4 separate regions of the Homo sapiens genome follow, and all the other regions are linked to region 2. Evidence: promoter capture Hi-C in human tissues and cell types (Jung and others, 2019). All regions are on one chromosome and are shown on one strand. Each heading gives the region's core, a stretch centred on a gene start or on the middle of the fragment in contact. The rest is flanking DNA. Distances are from core to core; before and after follow the strand shown.

Region 1 (3,150 bases), core at 5-2,504, 1.5 Mb after region 2:
ACACACCTTGAGAAAGTGAAGCTGTAATCTTTAAGTCAATTTCCTTAGTGAGAGATATAAGAACTCAGCAAGGAGAGATTTCCCTGGAAGCAGCTGGCTGTAATGGGCTTTCACCATGACTCTAGTGCTCTGTGGCATTACAGCCGTTTCCATCCCCAACTTCAGACCTGCTTCTGCCATTGACTGGCTGCATGAATTGAGGACTGAGGCTTAGCATTTCTCAACAGTGCAATTTCCCAATGGTATGAATGTGCTCTGAGGATATAAAAAAAAGCTCTGCTTATAGAAATAGAGAAATGTGGGGTTATAGCATTAAGTGCAATGGATGGATTTAGGCACTTAAAAAGGCAACATTACAATATAACTTATTACTTCCAGAAGCATTGCAAATACACACACACACACACACACACACACACACACTCATTCCTGAGTGCTGCTATCTACACTTAAAAATGTAATTCTTACTTTCCTTTCTCAGATATGGCATGTTGCTTGAAGAGAATAAATTTTTAAAATTAAACATTTATTCAATCCCATTATAAAGTATAATTTTGCAGAATATTTGAGTGCCCAGAGGTAAATTACAGAAATGTGTACAAAGTGAAGCAATTTTTCTAATCAAATCACTGACATGTTAAAAAATTCATCTGAACTTAAAAAAAAAGGAAAAAAAAAGAAAAGATTCCGTAGCACAGTCTTCACTTCTTAGATTTACTATTAAAGGCATGGCAGTGAAAAGCCCCCAGAACTACCCAGAGGTATCACTCAGAGACCCAGGATCACCTTTGAGGCTTCCTGGCCCTCATGTCCCAAATGCTGATTTTTCCCCAGACATCACTCACACCTGCCCACTTGTGTCTCTTCCCACCAGCCCCATCCCATCAGGACTAGCGTCCTGTCACTATCGAGACCAGCAGTCTCTGCATGAAAACCAGTGTGATGCTTTTACAATCGAAATGCAATGACTTACCTCCCTTCTTTAGAACCTATCAAATATTTCCTCTTGACCTTAGGATAAAGTTGTTCTTGGTTTAGCCTAAGCTGGAACACAAAGCCTTGCATAATCTGGTTCCCTTTGAGACAGCCAGGTTGGAAAGGGTCCCCGGAAAACCTCCAACGAGCCTGCGCACTAGGAGAAATGCGCACTGGGGTGGAGACACAGAAGTTCGTGCCCTTTGGAGCAGGGAGGAGCCTGGTCCCTCCTCTTCCTGTGTGGAACCCGGGATTCAAGCTGCAGGCGGGAAGCGCTCTAGCAGGGGCTCGCCTTGCGAGAGTCCCTGATTCGAGCCTCTTTTCTTCCTCTTCAATCAATACTACTCTCTCCTACTCACCATTCAAACCGTCTATGAGCCTAAATTTTCACGGCCATGGGACGGACAAGGACCCCGTCTTTAGCCGAACTAAGGAAAAGTCCTGCAACACCTTTATACACGCCCAGCCTTCTTTTGGGTCACTGTGTTCCATCTGGCCGATGATTAATGCACTTCAGCACTTTGGGAGGCCGAGGCGGGCGGATCACGAGGTCAGGTGATCGAGAACATCCTGGCTAACACGGTGAAACCCCATCTCTACTAAAAATACAGGAGTGGTGGCGGGCGCCTGTAGTCCCAACTACTCGGGAGGCTGAGGCAGGAGAATGGCGTGAACCGGGGAGGCGGAGTTTGCAGTGAGCCGAGATCGCGCAACTGCACTCCACCCTGGGCAACAGAGCGAGACTCTGTCTCAAAAAAAAAAAAAAAGAAAGAAAGAAAGTGCATTCTCCTTTCCACATATCTTCTCAGCCTGATCATGTTCTACCCCAGCCTCCTTAACCCCTTCTGTTGTCCTGGCCTGGGAAGCTTCTCATTCTACAGACCTCAGCTTCAAACATGACGTATTTGAGGTAGCTTTCCTGACCCCCTCGATCCTCACCAGATTAGTTTATTTTCTAAACACTTTTTGCAGTTTGTTATTGTAAATGTCTTCCTCAGTTGACTCTCTTCTATGAGGGAATGAACTAGATTTGTTTTGGTGTCCCTGGTGCTCCCAGTCCTTGGTATAAGGTAATTGTTAAACACATACATACACACACACACACACACGACGAAGATTCTAGCTTGCAGCTGGTAGTCAAAAAAATAGTTACTGTTTTTTATCCTTATCAAACCATCAAGTACAAGGAGAGTACTATCTTAATTACTGTGAAGGGTATCATTGCTTCAAAGTTCCCTACCTTCCAAGTTCTGAACACTGAACTGCTACCAAGCTACGAAGGGCTTTGCCTAGTCACATGTCCACCCATCACCAAATAACTCACTAACCGAGAATAATTACCATTTTTTTTTTAAGACGGAGTCTCACTCTGTCACCCAGGCTGGAGTGCAGCGGCATGATCTCGGCTCACTGCAACCTCCACCTCCCGGGTTCAAGCGCTTCTCCTGCCTCAGCCTCCCGAGTAGCTGGGATTACAGGCACCCACCACCCCACCTGGCTAATTTTTTTGTATTTTTATTAGGGAGGGGGGTTTCACCATGTTGGCCAGGCTGGTCTCAAACTCCTGACCTCAGGTGATCTGCCTGCCTCGGCCTCCCAAAGTGCTGGGATTACAGACGTGAGCCACCGCATCTGGCCATAATTACCAAATTTAAATTTGCAAAGATGGTGACACTTTGACACTTGATCCAAATCAGGTGCCCTTTTCACTACACACACACACACACACACACACACACACACACTTACACACATGCACACACACTATGAACCATGCATTACACACTATGGATGATGCTTTCATCACAAGAACAGTTTGCCGTCAAAGATGGAGAATATGGAGCAGAGAAATCTGGATAACTTAGGTTAAGGTTCATGCAGATTCAGTATTTCATTCACCTAACAAATATTTTTGAGGATCAGCAATGTATTCATTCAATCGCCAAATATTTACGAAGTCTACACATTCCCAGGTATGTGCCAGGTACAATACTAGACACAGAGTAATCGGTGATGAGTAAAGCGGAAATGATATCCCGTGCTTGTGGAGCTTATAGTCTTGTGAAAGGAGATAGAAAATAAACCAGGCAACAAGTAAATCACATAACAACAAATCTTGAGTACCATGAAGTGCTATAAAAGAAAGGGTCAGAAAGCCGTAAGAGAGACCAAGGG
Region 2 (3,075 bases), core at 31-2,530:
TCTATCTAAAACAAGCCACACTTAAAAAAAAAAAAAAAAAGAGTCTTCTTTCCTTCTTCTTATAAAAGTCCAGCGCGTTTCAAAGTCCTTTTAATTGTCAGGCCCAGAGAGACATTAGAATGAGACCACAATCATGCCCTACTCCTTCCTTTAAACTATATATTCATTTCTTAAAACTACATACTATTACTACAAATAGCTATAAATTAACCTAATAATACCACATCAAACAGTATAACCCACATCCTATGACTTAACTATATATAACTAATCACTAATCGACATTATTTCAATAAATCAGTATAAATTCCTAACAATGTTACATCAGTCCACTCCCCATCCCCCTTTTTTTTGCCTTTAAGAATCCACTTATAACTACTACTAATCAAAATATATATTCAAAACAACTTAAATCTATACTCCTGAGTTGCAATCCTCACACTTGGCCCAAATAAACTCTTACTTATATTAATTTCGCCTCACCTTCTTCCTTTTTAAGTCGACACTCCTTTCCCTGATACTTACCAGAAGGCAATTCCTTGGGCTCAGATTAAAACTGACAAAAATAGGAGCCATTCGAAATGAGGGAGCTTCTGAAAAGTTTGGGGATTCCGGAGTGTTCAGGACAACAGAATAGGGAATTCGAAAAAAAAAGAAAGCAAAAATAAAAATCGATTATACAAGCCTTAATGCACCCATGATTGTTATTCCCCACTTCTTTATTTATATGAATGAAGTTAGCATAGTTGCAGCAATGGAGTAACTCCATTATTATTTTTTCCCACTACGCATTTATTTTAAGTCTTTCTTTTTCTCAGGATGTTTTCCTGAGTGATGTCTGATCTAATGGGAAAAAGTGGAAGTAGGAGAGGCAGGACTTTAGAAGGGCTCAAAGTAGATGAACAAAACGGAGGTCTCCTGGAAGCAGGTGACTGAGTTAGGCAACCGAGATGCCCACATATCTGTGCGGCGTTCGCCCCAAGAGGCCAGCCGGCTCCGCTCAGCTCCCCGCGGCGTGGCCGCATCCCCGCCGCCCGACTCCCAGCCCGCTTCCTCTCTCCGCGAGCGGGGGGGGGAGCTGCAGGCGGGGCCCGAAGCGCCCCGGGGGCACGTGGAGCGGCCTCTGGCTCACCTGCGCCTCCCGGGCCCCAGCCCAGCGCCGCCGCGTCACCGCCCCTCCCGCGGCCCCGCCCCAGCCCGGCTCATTGGCTGCCGCTCGGAGGGGAGGGGAAGGGGCGGCTGCGGGGGTCTCATTAGCGATGCGGACTCTCGCCTCCGCTCCGTAGTTCGGGGCCCGGCAGCGGCGCGAGGGCTGGGAACTGCGCGGCGGGGACTGCGGGCGACTCCGGCATCCGCGCTGGCGGCAGCGGTCGCCGCGCCGTGGGAAGCTATGGGGACGCGCCCTTTCTCGGGGTGCCCATTCAGCGGCGGCTCGGAGCTCCCTGCCCCGCTGCTTTAGGAAGCGATCGTGGAGCAGAGTCACTCTCTGAAGACTCCCGAGACCCATTCGACTCGGGACCCTCATCGCCGACCCTTTCCCGGGCTCCCGGAGCGTGAAGAAGAGCCGCCCTCCGGAACGCGGCGAGGAGCATGGGGAGAGCGGCGGCCACCGCAGGCGGCGGCGGAGGGGCGCGCCGCTGGCTCCCGTGGCTGGGGCTGTGCTTCTGGGCGGCAGGGACCGCGGCTGCCCGAGGTAAGCGCTGGGCGGAGCGGGCAGCTGGGGGCGAGGGCGCAGGGGCGCCAGCCTGACGGAGCGGGACCTGCACCGATGGCGTTGGCTTCCCAACTTGCGCCCTGCACCTCGGCGCTCCAAGCCCAACCGGATGGGAGCCGAGTGGAGGACTCCGAGGGGACCACAGCCTTCCAACCCAAGTTTGCGATCTGCCGCAATCCTACAGGTGGCTGTGACCCGGGCCCCTACCGTTTTCCTGGACCCTCCTTGCCTGCTCCATTTTCCAAGCCCTCCCCAATTGCTGCAGACTGGAGTAGCCCGGTCTTCACTCCAATCTCGCTCTCCCCTCTCCTCTCCACTTCCTCTCAAGCCGAGCTTGGTCATGAGTTAGCGCCCATAGCGATGTCGGAGAGTTCCTGGGGAGAGGGGCCAGGTGATGGGAGTGTCTGTAGGGTGGGCTTGAACAGAGAGGGTGTCTTTTCCCTTAGGGGAGGAACACCCATGCTGAAGTCCCTTCGCTCTGCGCCTAGCTTGGCACCCCTCGGGCGTCCTTAGCCCGAGGTCCCAGCCAGCCCTGGAGCTCGGGAGAGCGGCGTGCACCATCCCAGTTTAACCGCGCCTGCAGTGCCCAGCCGGGATGAGCACTTGGCCCGAGGCTGCTCACCAGGCGCCTCCTCTCCCTTCCCGGCGCCTACTCTGGCTTGGAAGCGCGGGCCCCACCGAGCCGCAGGGAAACCTCTGCTTCTTTCCGACTTAGAAGCCTAGACCCCATTTTCTTGGATCCTCTGGACTCCAGCAGAGGGAAATTTCGCAACTGGTTTCAGCTCCACCTTGAGCGAGGACAGGCAGCATCAAGTTAAAGATAAATCCCAAGGAGTTGTTTTGAAGATGATCAGAGGCAGTTTCAGACACAGCTCAAGTACCGGAGCTTTACCTTTGAAAAAAATCGGAAGCTTTGCCTTCCCGCCCTTCTTTCCCTTTTTCCTTCTCTGTGTTCCATCCATCAGGCTTAGAATATGTGATACCGTTAAATGATTTGCCTTACACTTGCCAGGGGAGAGGTGGAGCTGAGCTGACCACTTCACCTGCTCTGTTCGGTCTCCTGAACATGCTCCGACCAGCCTGGAGAGTGAAAGGGTGGAAAGGGTTGAGGACGATCACAAAAGAACCAATGTTATCTCATTTTTATAAAAGCTTATGGCGTGTTAAAAGCAGTCCGGCTGCCTAGAAAGATTTTCTTTTTAAGAGGTTGATAGAGGCTCTCCATTGTATGATCCTATTCTTTGCCCATTTGCATTTCATTTCCTGAAAAGTTTTTTTTTTTTTTTTTTTTTTTTTTTAATGGAGCGGGCTTTGTAAGAAGCAGGGGAGGTTTAAAAATGAGCGTCGGTGATTGTACACCC
Region 3 (3,169 bases), core at 425-2,924, 1.3 Mb before region 2:
TTGTCATCATTTCATGAACTCCAAAAAAATTAATCTTTTTCAATTATAGTGCATCTTGCTTCTGACTACTCACCTTGGACAAAAGTTATTCATCATCATGCCCTGTGATTGCTTCCAAGCACCAATTGCCACTATAGGAAGCTTTCAACCTTTAAGAAATTTTGAAGAAATGGGCCTACTGCTCTCAACCCAATTTTAAAGCAAAAAATTTTTAAGCAATGACAACGTTTCTAGAATAAATACATTCATAATCACCACTTTGAAGAGAAAAAAATTCCTTTAGGTGCCGATGTTCTGATGTGTTTCCCTTTTAAAAAAAGTTTCTTTTCCACATGCACACGTATGTTTATTGCAGCACTATTTATAATAGCAAAGACTTGGAACCAACCCAAATGCCCATCAATGATAGACTGGATAAAGAAAATGTGGCACATATACTCCATGGAATACTATGCAGCCATAGAAAGGAATGAGTTCATGTTCTTTGCAGGGATATGGATGAAGCTGGAAACCATCATCCTCAGAAAACTAACACAGGAACAGAAAACCAAACACTGCATGTTCTCACTTCATAAGTGGGAGTTGGACAATGAGAAGACATGGACACAGGAGGGGAACATCACACACTGGGCCCTGCTAGGGGGTGGGGGGAAAGGTGAGGGAAAGCATTAGGATAAATACCTAATACATGCGGGGCTTAAAATCTAGAGGGCGGGTTGATAGGTGCAGCAAACCACCATAGCACATGAATACCTATGTAACAAACCTGCACATGAAAGTTCACCTACCTATGGCGATTATCCCTGGTTACCATTTAGCTGTGTCTTAGTCTGTTTGGTCTGCTATAATAAAATACCATAAACTGTGTGGCTTATAAGCAATGGAAATGTGTTTCTCATGGTTCTGGAGACTGAGAAGTCCAAGATTCATGGAGCCAGCAGATTCAGTTTCTGGTGAGGGCCTGCTTCTTAGTTGGTAGACATCTGTTCACTGCATTCTCACATGGTGGAAGGGGCAAGGCAATACTCTGGGGTCTCTTTTATAAGGGCACTAGACCCATTCATGAGGGCAGGCCCTCATGACCTAATCACCTCCCTAAGTCCTCACCTCCCAATGCTTTCACAGTGGGGATTAGGTTTCAACATGTGATTTTTGGGAGGACACAAACATTCAGACCATAGCAAGCTGTTGCTGGACACACAGAGCTTCACCTAAAAATTCAAAGGTTGTCTTGGGGGATAATAGGCACTCTTGTGTGGTGGCATTACCTTTTGGAATTCCCAGGGTGGTCTTGCTCACCACTCTTCATTTCCAGCTTCCTTCTCCCAAGTGAGTTAGGCCGTTGCTCCAGGCCTCCTGATGGTCCGTTCCCATTGCAGCACTTTCCTGGTCAACTTCCTTTTCATTCAAGTTGCTCTCGCTGTGATATGGTTTGGCTGTGTCCCCACCCAAATCTCATCTTGAACTGTAGTTCCCATAATCCCCACATGTCATAGGAGGGAACCAGTGGGAGGTAATTGAATCATGGGGGCAAGTACTTCTGTGCTGTTCTTGTGATAGTAAGTGAATTCTCATGAGATTTGATAGTTTTATAAGGGGATTTGCCCCCTTTTGCTGGGCACTTCCCCTTGATGCCACCATGTAAAGAAGGTTGTTTGCTTCCCTTTCTGCCATGAATGTAAGTTTGGTGAGGCCTCCCCAGCCATACTGAACTGTGAGTCAAACCTCTTTGCTTTTTAAGATACCCAGTCTCAGGTCTGTCTTCATTAGCAGTGTGAGAACAGACTAATACACCCTGGCTAAGGACTCTAACCTGACTCTGACATTGTTGCCCTGGGCTTTTGAAGCTGTATCCCAGCTGATTCCTAGAAACTAATTCTCCCAAGGATATTGGTGCTTCTCAGGAATGAGAATGGAATTTTGCCCCAGCACTTGGAAATGCTTTCACAGGAGCAGTAAATGTCTCTCTTGTATAAATAAAATTGCCTGGGCTTTGCACTGCTCTCGGCTCATTTCCATTTTGCCTCCTCTGTGACTAGCTCCTCCTTATTCTCAGAGTATCCTAGGGACGGCATTTTGTCGTAGCATACTATTATTTTCTCTGAAGGAGGGTACATCAGAAAAGGGTTACTTTGAGTCACAAAGTATACACAAAAACTCCAGTTACCTAAAATACTCTTGGAATGGGATTTTCTCATTAGTAGAAATTTCTACTTAGAGTAAGACAAATTTATGTCTATTATTATCAAAATATAAAGCAATCTTCAGTAGTAATGTAGTTAATAATAGCAAACATTTACCAGGCATCTACTATATGCTAGGCGCTGTCATTACACTTACTCCCAATCTCATTGAAGTCTACCAACAACTTTAAGAGGCAGAATGGTAATTAATCCCACTTTATTGATGAGAAAACTGAGTCACATAAAGGTTAAATTACTCATCCAATGTGACATAGTTAATAAATTAGTAAGAGGCAAAGTAGGGATTTGGACCCAGGAATGTTACACGTGAGAACCCAGGCTTTAGGTTTATGATATTACCTCCACACAGACAATAGGCAGTCTCAAAACTTCTGAGATGAGTTTGTGTTTGTAAGAGTTTACTTTTCAAGGATACCCTCCTCTTTTCATGTTAACACTCTCAAACCGCTCCTTATATACCCTGTTATACAAATCTCACTCCTTTGAGGTCCTTGTTATTCAACTAAACTGTCATCCCTCTCTAGTGACTGTCTAGTCCCTCTCCTTCACCATCCCAAAGGGAATAAATCCAAGTGAGTAAGTTATCTCCTGTCAGATCCTTAGTCTTCTTGTTTCCAGTGAGAGTTGGAGTACATTTTGCAGTCTACTTTGCAGTCAGATGAGACCCAGTGACTGGGTTCTGTTCAGTTGCACTCAGGCCATGATGATGTAATGTTGCCTCCAAGCCAGGGCTGGAAAATCACCCAAACACTCCTTCTAGGTCTCTTTCTTTGTTCTTTGGCTGGCCTCATGCCATGGGCAGTGGTCACTAGGGGATGGTTTACCCAGGCTCTGCACTCACTGTCTCCCTTCCATCACGAGGTCTTTGTATGCTCTCCTCCTCAAAAACTCCCTTCTTCCCTCTTCATCCAGGTGAAAGCTGTTCTCTCTTTGGCCTACAGCTTCCTCAAGAACACCCTTCCTAT
Region 4 (3,210 bases), core at 448-2,947, 1.5 Mb after region 2:
AGCTTGGTTCTACAGCACTTCTAGCTACTCAAGCTACTGTGAGCTGCTCAATATTCCTCTATAAATCCCTCTCCTGCTTGCAGAGTCAACTTTTATTTCTTGCAAGTAAAATTCTAACTGATACAGATCCACATCATTTTTAGCACTGTTGACAAATATTGGATGACATTTCTTAGGGCTTAAAAATTTTTGCCAAATGATCATAGCCCATAGACTGGCATACAAATATATCCTTCACAACTTTAAAATAACAATGACATCTTGGCATAAAAAGCTTCCTTTTCTTTTTTGAGACAGTCCCCTCTGGGGCTTGTGGTATCAATGTCTGTAACTGTCTTATGAAATAATTCCTTATTCTCGACTGACCATTATAAGAGAAAACAATTGAGAAAGTAGTCACCCAAAGACCAACACCTTACCTCTCACTCCCAGTGAGAATCTTCCATCCTACTTTCCCCTCCCTCAGTCTTATTCTCAGTCAAGGTTGTTACACAAACATCATCTGGAATTGCAGAGGAAGTAATCACTCCATATCATTTAACTTCTTGCTACTGTACTTTGAACTAATTGTTCCCCTTCCTCTAGGAACCATCAGAGGTAACCCCACAATGTCTTGCAACCCTGCTGACCTTACGTACCACCTGCACTCTTGTCCCCTTCCTGCTTGGGACCCCTCATAGTCTGGTACATTGCCTTCCCCTTCCTGCCCATGCAAAGCCTACACTGTGCACTTTAGGTAGCCTCACCTGGAAACAGCTAGTCCTTCTTCAACATTTGCTGATTGTGCCTTTACTGAAAGCTGACTTTCCCCAATGGACTCCATTTCTCCAAAACTCCCCCAGTTGAAGGCCTTTTATATCCCTCTCTCATTTCCCCACACTGCAGAGCCATGAGGCAGTATGAGTGTTCTCCGTGCTCCCTCTTGCCTCTTCCATATCCTTTCTCCTTCCTCCTGCAATGTCCCACCTCCTCCGATATTCAAGCCGCCAGAATATACCAGAGATGCTGCTCCCTCCTTGCTATCATCTGCAGACATCTCATTCTTTCCCATCTCTTAACTGAAGAGGTTACCAAGTAAAATGGCTTGCTCCTAAATGCACAGGAAGCCAATATTTTATCCCTGGGTTTTTGAGAAAAGAAAAGCATTTTTTATTGCAAGTTAACTAACAAGGAGACTAGAGTCTAGCTCAAATCTGTCTCCATGTACTGGCTCCAAGGCAGTCATTTTATTAGAAAAGCTTTAGGGGGTGAATTGTGAGATTAGTGGGTAATTGGTAGGCGGAAAGAGGAGGACTAAAAAGTTCTCAGGCATGCACAGGTGTCTCTTCACTGCCTTCTCATGAGTCAGTCGCATGTGCACATTTGACAGGCATTAGTATGAAACATGTGGTCGAAATTTGGGCTGTGACGTCAGCAAGCCCATTCTTTATAGACTTCAGTTGGTCATATTGGTTCCAATCAATTTTAATCAATTTTTGGCAGTCTTTTAAATCTCGTAAGTTGGGGGAGCTCCAGCATTTCAGCAAGTCTTTTGTTGTTATTTAATCTCCCATCCTACAAACTCATGAATATGTCTTAGTCATTAGTTTCTTTAACTATTTTGGGCACAGTTTCAATTTGATATGGTTTGGCTGTTTTCCACCCAACTCTCATCTTGAATTGTAGCTCCCATAATCCCCACAGATTGTAGCAGTGACCTAGTAGGAGATAATTGAATCATGGAGGCAGTTTCTCCCCTATGGTAGTGAATAAACCTCGTGGTAGTGAATATGTCTCATGAGATCTGATGGTTTTATAAGAGGTTTCCCTTTTTGCTTGGCTCTCATTCTTCTCCTGCCTGCTGCCAGGTAAGATGTGACTTTGCTGCTCCTTCGCCTTCTGCCATGACTCTGAGGCCTTCCCAGCCCTGTGGAACTGTGAGTTCATTAAATCTCTTTCTCTTCTAAATTACCCAGTCTCGGGTAAGTCTTCATTAGCAGCATGAGAACAGACTAATACACAATTCTTGTGGTCTCTGCTCAGATTCCACCTTCTTAAAGGAGCCTTCCATGCCACCCCATCTGAAGTCACTTTACCTCCACCCCATTTCGTCTCTAGCCCATCATCCTGTTCATTTCCTTCAGAGCATGTATATTCTGAAGTTTTTTTAATTATTTTATTCATTGGTTTAGTGTATGTTTATCCTCATTAGAATAAGCAAGGTCTTCATCTTTCTATTTCACAGATATAACCTCAGTACCTAGAATAGTGTCTGACATTTTAAGAAAAATTACCTACCTGAAATTAAGTCACAGTTACATGAAGTTCTACCTTGATGTTTCACCCAAATAGCCAATTTTCCTACTGCTATTGATAGAATAGTAAGCTTTGTTCCTGCTAACATGCAATGTTTTATGATATATTACATAGCGATAAAGGGATTTTCTACTCAGTCACTTGGATGCATTTGTCTGACTGTTCTGGCAAAGCCAAATTGTTTTCATTACTGTGACTTGATAAACTTGGTAATAACTAGTAGGACAAGTTTCTTCCCACCCCTCCTTTTTTTTTTTTTTTTTTTCAGACGGAGTCTTGCTCTGTTGCCCAGGCTGGAGTGCAGTGGCAAGATCTTGGCTCCCTGCAATCTCTGCCTCCCAGGTTCATGCTATTCTCCTGCCTCAGCCTCCCAAGTAGCTGGGACTACAGGCGCCTGCCACCACGCCAGCTAATTTTTTTTAATATACTTTTAGTGGAGACGGGGTTTCACCGTGTTAGCCAGGATGGTCTCGATCTCCTGACCTCGTGATCTGCCCGCCTGGGCCTCCCAAAGTGCTGGGATTACAGGTGTGATCTTTTCCCCTTTTAAGCTTTTCAGAGGAAGTCTCTTTTATATGGACGTTAGAGTTCAACCTATTAGGGCACTTTCAAGGTACAATGACAATGGAGTAAATCATGAGTGGAAAAAAAAACTTAAATTTGATTATATAAAAATATGAACACTTTGGGAGGCCAAGGCAGGCGGATCACCTGAAGTCGGGAGTTCGAGACCAACCTGGCCAACAAGGTGAAACCCTGTCTCTACTAAAAATACAAAAATTAGCCAGGCGTGGTGGTACGTGTCTGTAATCCCAGCTACTTGGGAGGCTGAGGCAGGAGAATCACTTGAACTCGGGAGGCAGAGGTTGCAGTGAGCCAAGATTGTGCCACTGCACTCCAGCCTGGGAGACAGAG

What was found. Contacts are between HindIII fragments. The study calls those that stand out against the background at their distance.
Region 1: a contact is called between a fragment that was not itself captured here and the fragment with the promoter of UNC5D in region 2, in 1 of the 25 tissues and cell types used here (dorsolateral prefrontal cortex).
Region 3: a fragment that was not itself captured here is called in contact with the fragment with the promoter of UNC5D in region 2 in 1 of the 25 tissues and cell types used here (dorsolateral prefrontal cortex).
Region 4: a contact is called between a fragment that was not itself captured here and the fragment with the promoter of UNC5D in region 2, in 1 of the 25 tissues and cell types used here (dorsolateral prefrontal cortex).

The regions. Positions count from the first base shown.
Region 1 is chr8:36,778,065-36,781,214 of GRCh38, forward strand. No RefSeq gene overlaps it. Among named protein-coding and RNA genes, the nearest start is that of KCNU1, 4.7 kb to the right of the region's middle. The HindIII fragment of the contact is 4,036 bases long and covers 1-3,150 here.
Region 2 is chr8:35,234,195-35,237,269 of GRCh38, forward strand. UNC5D (unc-5 netrin receptor D) reads left to right here and starts at 1,281. Exons shown (of 17, transcript NM_080872.4): 1 at 1,281-1,693. The coding sequence starts at 1,591. The HindIII fragment of the contact is 15,361 bases long and covers 1-3,075 here.
Region 3 is chr8:33,927,491-33,930,659 of GRCh38, forward strand. The region is part of intron 2 of LOC105379364 (a long non-coding RNA gene); the gene reads left to right. Among named protein-coding and RNA genes, the nearest start is that of DUSP26, 330 kb to the left of the region's middle. The HindIII fragment of the contact is 5,310 bases long and covers 1-3,169 here.
Region 4 is chr8:36,758,389-36,761,598 of GRCh38, forward strand. No RefSeq gene overlaps it. Among named protein-coding and RNA genes, the nearest start is that of KCNU1, 24 kb to the right of the region's middle. The HindIII fragment of the contact is 3,119 bases long and covers 139-3,210 here.